2 separate regions of the Homo sapiens genome follow, and region 2 is linked to region 1. The links are contacts of gene promoters, found by promoter capture Hi-C in blood cells and fetal thymus (Javierre and others, 2016). All regions are on one chromosome and are shown on one strand. Each heading gives the region's core, a stretch centred on a gene start or on the middle of the fragment in contact. The rest is flanking DNA. Distances are from core to core; before and after follow the strand shown.

Region 1 (2,906 bases), core at 407-2,906:
TTCAAGCATCTGTTTAACAAAGCACATCTTGCACCGCCCTTAATCCATTTAACCCTGAGTGGACACAGCACATGTTTCAGAGAGCACGGGGTTGGGGGTAAGGTTATAGATTAACAGCATCCCAAGGCAGAATAATTTTTCTTAGTACAGAACAAAATGGAGTCTCCTATGTCTACTTCTTTCTACACAGACACAGTAACAATCTGATCTCTCTTTCCTTTCCCCACATTTCCCCCTTTTCTATTCGACAAAACCGCCATCGTCATCATGGCCCGTTCTCAATGAGCTGTTGGGTACACCTCCTAGACAGGGTGGCGGCTGGGCAGAGGGGCCCCTCACTTCCCAGACGGGGTGGCCGGGCAGAGGTGACTCCACCTCCCGGACGGGGTGGCGGCCGGGCGGGGTCTGCCCCCCACCTCCCTCCGGGACGGGGCGGCTGACCGGATGGGGGCTGCCCCCCACGTCCCTCCCGGACGGGGCAGCTGGCCGGGCGGGGGCTTTTCTCTCTTCTTTCATCTTTCTTCCTTCTACTCTCTTCTTCTTTCTTCTTCCTTCTTCTTTCTTCTCCTTTTAATTTCCTCTTCCTCCTTCCTCCTTCCTTCTTTCTTCTTCTTCTGACAAGGTGTCACTCTGCTGCCCACGCTGGAGTGCAGTGGTGCAATCATAGCTCACTGCATCCTTGAACTCCTGGCTCAAGCAATCCTCTTGCTTTGGCCTCCCAAAGTGTTGGAATTACACGCGTGAGCCACCATGCCTAGCCTTAGCAGTCCATTTCTAACCTCTTTACAACAATCTCCTTGCCATTCTCCCAGCTAACTTCTACACATTATTCAGATTCAGCATTCAGCTTAGATATTACCTAATTTAGAAGCTTCCCCTGATTGAATTGAGTGCCCTTTCTTTGTATCACTTTGTCCTTTCTCCTGTATCCCTCAATGCTTTTCTCCTGTACTTATCATATTATACCGCAATTTTGTTGTTAACTTATTCTGTCTTTTGCACTGGATTATAAAGCCCTTTAGTGGAGGAATTATGTCGGTCTCAATGCTGAATATTTTAAGTCTACTGTAGTACTCGGTACATAGTAGTTGCTCAACGAATATTTGTTAAATAAATGAGTCTTAAGTCTGGAAGAACTTGCAAAGTTCTTTACCAGGTTGCTGGTAAAGCAACCTGACCTTTCTTTCAGGGAACTGTCAGCAACACAAGCCATGAATACCAACGCAAAACAGACTCTCACTGTAGATCACACGGGAAAAAATAAAATAAAAAGGTAAAATCCTTAACGGTGGTAGTATTTAAATGACCATATACTGCTTAGTAAGAAATCCTGGGGTCATTTTCAAGGTCCCCCATTTCCTACTTTTGTTAAGCTGGGTCAAGTCTCTTTAAACTTTCTCCGTTTTCTTGTCCATAAAAAGAGTATACTAGGTAAGTCTTCTGTCTACCTCGGGACTTCTGTAAGTATCATAAGAGATGTTTTATATGACAACACTTCACAAACGTTTAGTAAAACGCTGCAAAATGTTTGTAGCTGGCTATAAACAAGATCATGCAGATTGGGTTCCTGAGCCAACAAACCCAAAGAAGACCGGTTGCTAGGAAGAGAAAGCCGAGCGTTGCTCCGTGACGTCATCACTCCGCGCCACCCGCGACAGTTTCCCAGCAGGGCTCACAGCAGCGTTCCGCGTCATGGGGATTTGGCAGCGTCTGCTGCTTTTTGGTGGGGTGTCGCTCCGGGCTGGTGGCGGGGCCACTGCCCCGCTTGGGGGAAGCCGAGCGATGGTTTGTGGGCGCCAGGTCCGTGGTGCTGCAGGGCAGGGGGAAGCGGGCTGACAGATGCTGGGCTGCAGGGCCGCAGATGCCCTGGCATTGCTTCTTGCCAAAGACTCGCCTCAGTTCCTGAGACCCCCAGTGTGCTGGACGTGCCTACTTTTCAGGCAGGCCCAGGCTGAGGCGTGGCGGGACTTGAAACACAGTTAGAACGTAGATGTGGTATTCTACATTGCTTTCTTGGCTTTGGGTTATTTATCAAATAGATTGAAGAAAAGCAAAACACGTGGAAGCCTTATCTCCGTAAAGAGGCAGCGTTTTTACATTTTTAAACGTTCAGCGTATCCTGCTAGAAAAATTTCAATTTAAGCAATGTGTCTTTACAATTGTTATCAGTAGTAGTAGGTAAATGTCTCCATAGTGAAGATGAGCAGAATTAGAAAAGAAAGCCCTCTTAATTGCAAACCCCAGATTGTTTTTGCTTTTACAGTGTGATGATGGAGATGGCTTATTTAAAACGGCTTTTTATTATTATTATTTTTTAAAGTTGTCTGGCGCCGGGAGTGAGACCCTAAAACAAAGAAGAACACAAATCATGTCCCGAGGACTTCCAAAGCAGAAACCGATAGAAGGTGTTAAACAAGTTATAGTTGTGGCTTCTGGAAAGGGTGGAGTCGGAAAATCTACTACAGCAGGTATTATAGGATATTAATTCTATTCCTGATTAAGAACTTATGCCAACAGACAAGTGCACACTATTGAAATTATAGTTTTGTGTTTTAAAAATTTATTTGTGAAGTTCCTAACATGTGATTCCTTAGTTTCAGGAGTTGGTAGCGGGTAGACGCTTAGATTTTGGAGTTAGACAAAAGTAGGTACTAGCCGGGTCTCCCACCCCTTAACTCAGGAAAAAGTGGTCAGATTGTACAGCAAATCTTCAGTTCACTTAACTGTAAAATGGAGATAACTTCTTTCATAAGATGGTTATTCAAATTGCACAAGCTAACCACTTAGCTTAGTGTTTACTAGTGTTCAATAATTGGTTGCTGTTATTTTTAAAACATCTAGTAACTTTTTTTTTTTGTTTTTTTTTTTTTTTTTGAGACGGAATCTCGCTCTGTCACCCAGGCTGT
Region 2 (2,906 bases), core at 247-2,746, 4.7 Mb after region 1:
CACTGAATCAATTAAATCTGAAGCTTGTGCTACCATGGACTTCCTATTTTATAATTTACATAATGTTTAAGCCAGTTTTGAGTTCAAATTTCTTAGTTGAAGCTAACAACATTCTCACTGATCCACTAATGAGCCTTTTAAACTTTGGCCTAATGAATTCTTTCTAGACTTTTTCTTAGTTTCACACAAGCACTAGCTTTTGAATGGCAAATTAGTAAATGAGTATATTTGACAAAGAAACTGTGAATGTCCAAGACAAAATGTTCTCATGAGCATTTCTGACTACTGAGATTTTAAAGACAGCATTAAAACTCACATTTTCCTTTGTGTCAAAAGTTGATTCAAAGAACATCTAGGTATGCTTATCAAGTTACAATAAATGGGAAATCATTAAGTATTAGAATTAGTAATTAAGAAATAATAGAGCTCAGATAATTATGCTCCTTCCTTTGCCAAACCAAGCTGGATACCTGTGGTAGGGCCTATGGGCAAATAAGGAATCAATGTTTAATTTGGCGATTGATCAGTCTCCTAACTTCCTAAGAGGTGGCTTTTTATACACTTGATGCAAATATAATTGCCCTTGGCCAGGCGTGGTGGCTCATGCCTGTAATCCCAGCACTTTGGGAGGCCGAGGCGGGTGGATCAAGAGGTCAGGAGATCAAGGCCATCCTGGCTAACATGGTGAAACCCAGTCTCTACTAAAAACACAAACAACTAGCCGGGTGTGGTGGCAGGTGCCTGCAGTCCCAGCTACTTGGGAGGCTGAGGCAGGAGAATGGCATGAACCCGGGAGGCGGAGGTTGCAGTGAGCCGAGACTGCACCACTGCACTCCAGCCTGGGCGACAGAGCAAGACACCATCTTAAAAAAAAAAAAAAAAAAAAAAAAAAAATTCCCCTTGTTCTCCTAATCGTTTAACCTGTAATATATTGATAGTTTCCATGCTATTAAACAATCAGATTACTACTGTATCATAGAACCAAAGCAAGAAATATTAGAATGAGGAAAATAAGGTCATCAGTCGCTCAGTGACTTAAAAACAGTAAAATGTGGCCTTTTGGACTTGTTTTAGCTCTGAGCAGAATATTTTGATAAAAAGAACACTTAGAAATACCATATCTACCGTGGATACACTAGATTAACTTTACTGTTTGTTTTAGGTATAAGGAAATCTCAGTACAGTTCCTGACTTATGATGGCTAGATAAGGTTTTTCAAATTTACAATGCTGTGAAAGTGACAGACATTCAGTAGAAACTGTACTTCAAATGCTGAATTTTGATCTTTTCCTGGGCTAGTGACATGTGATACGATGCTCTCTTGTGATGCTGGGCAGTGGCAGTGAGCAAAGCTCCCAGTCAGCCATGGGGTATGAGGGTAAACACCCGATACTCTACAGTGTACTGTGCTGCCAAGGGACTTTCCTCAACTGTACATGATAGGCCAGTGTACACATTCTGAACATGTTTTAGGCTAGGCTAAGCTATGATGTTTGGTAGGTTAGAGGTGTTGAATGCATTTTAGACTTAATAATATTTTCAGTTTTTGATGGGTTTATTGGGACATAACCCCATCTGTATAGAAGTATAAAAGGTGGACATTTTAACAGGTTTTGGTACCTGAGAGAAAATACTTGAGAGCACAGCACACTAAAGAAAGAGCTGGAGAAAGGTAATGCAAAATTGTCTCTCCTCACCCATTATTTTACCTTACCAGGTTCCTAGTCATGCACCGCTTAATGATGGGGATATATTCTGAGAAATGTGTTAATTTTGTCATTGTGTGAACATCATAGAGTATACTTATAGAAACCTAGATGGTACACACCTAGGCTATATGGTATAGTCTATTGCTCCTAGCATATAAACCTTATGGCATGTTTCTGTATTGAATACTGTAGGCAAGTGTAACACAATGGTATATGTGTATCTAAACACGTCTCAACATAGAAAAGATACAGTAAAAATACCATACTATAATTTTATGGGATCACTGTAATATATGCAGTTGACTGTTGACTGAAACATCCTTATGCAGAGCATGACTGTCATACACACGTTCACGCACATGCACACACACATATGAATCCAGGGAACCAGTGCTCTAAGGAAACTCAAGGGTAAGGAGGCCTCTTCCATGACTGGCTTGCTTTCTTTCAGTTGTAAAAGGCAACTGATTCTATGCGTGCAGTATCTAAAATGTTTTTCTTCCCTTCTAGTCCCAGAGCCCTGATTCAGACCTTCATTTCTCTCTGGCTTGGATAATGACATGTTTCCTAAACTAGTTTCCTTGACTCCAATTTCTCTCCAACTCAGACTTCATAATGCCACCAGACAGGGACCTAAATTACAAGTTTCTCTCTTTCTCTAAAACTTAATTGTGCTCCAATGATACTAGAAGTGCAAACTGGTTAGTGTGACCTTCAAGGCCCTCTGAAATATGTTTACAATCTAATTTTCTAGCTGAATCCAGTTGTTCACTCATGCTTCAGACCCACCACACGTTCACACGCACATGGCCTGTGTACATGATGTTGACCTGATTTTCAGCATTCCCCTCCCCCGATACTTCCCTTAAGAACCAGGAGTTACTGTTACAGACTAAAAATTACTCTCAGTCAGTGCTTTGAACAAAGTTAACACACCTTCAAAGTCCAATAATGAGCTATCAGCCAAGTCCTATCCATTCATTTGCACATCTACTCGATATTGACTACATTCTGTGTCTCAAAGATGAACAAGACATAGTTCCTGCCCTTGAGAGTTTCAAAATATAAAGTGAAAAACATGTATAAACATATGAGTGATAAATGCTATAAACTAAACAATATACTTGTAAAAGCATGTTGGTACTTACTGTTTTCAAGTATCATAATTTAAAATCAGTAAGTCTTTGGAAATACTCT

The links. Contacts are between HindIII fragments. The CHiCAGO score rates a contact against its expected background, and 5 or more counts as called.
Region 2: a fragment that was not itself captured here is called in contact with the fragment with the promoter of NUBPL in region 1 in 1 of 17 cell types (total CD4 T cells); the score reaches 5.6 in total CD4 T cells.

The regions. Positions count from the first base shown.
Region 1 is chr14:31,559,748-31,562,653 of GRCh38, forward strand. NUBPL (NUBP iron-sulfur cluster assembly factor, mitochondrial) reads left to right here and starts at 1,657. Exons shown (of 11, transcript NM_025152.3): 1 at 1,657-1,800; 2 at 2,321-2,468. The coding sequence starts at 1,693. It overlaps NUBPL-DT (NUBPL divergent transcript), which reads right to left and starts at 1,584. Exons shown (of 3, transcript XR_943720.2): 1 at 1,364-1,584. RefSeq lists enhancers at 1,500-1,899, 1,826-2,381. The HindIII fragment of the contact is 6,263 bases long and covers 870-2,906 here.
Region 2 is chr14:36,301,626-36,304,531 of GRCh38, forward strand. The region is part of intron 7 of MBIP (MAP3K12 binding inhibitory protein 1); the gene reads right to left. Among named protein-coding and RNA genes, the nearest start is that of MBIP, 18 kb to the right of the region's middle. The HindIII fragment of the contact is 2,950 bases long and covers 22-2,906 here.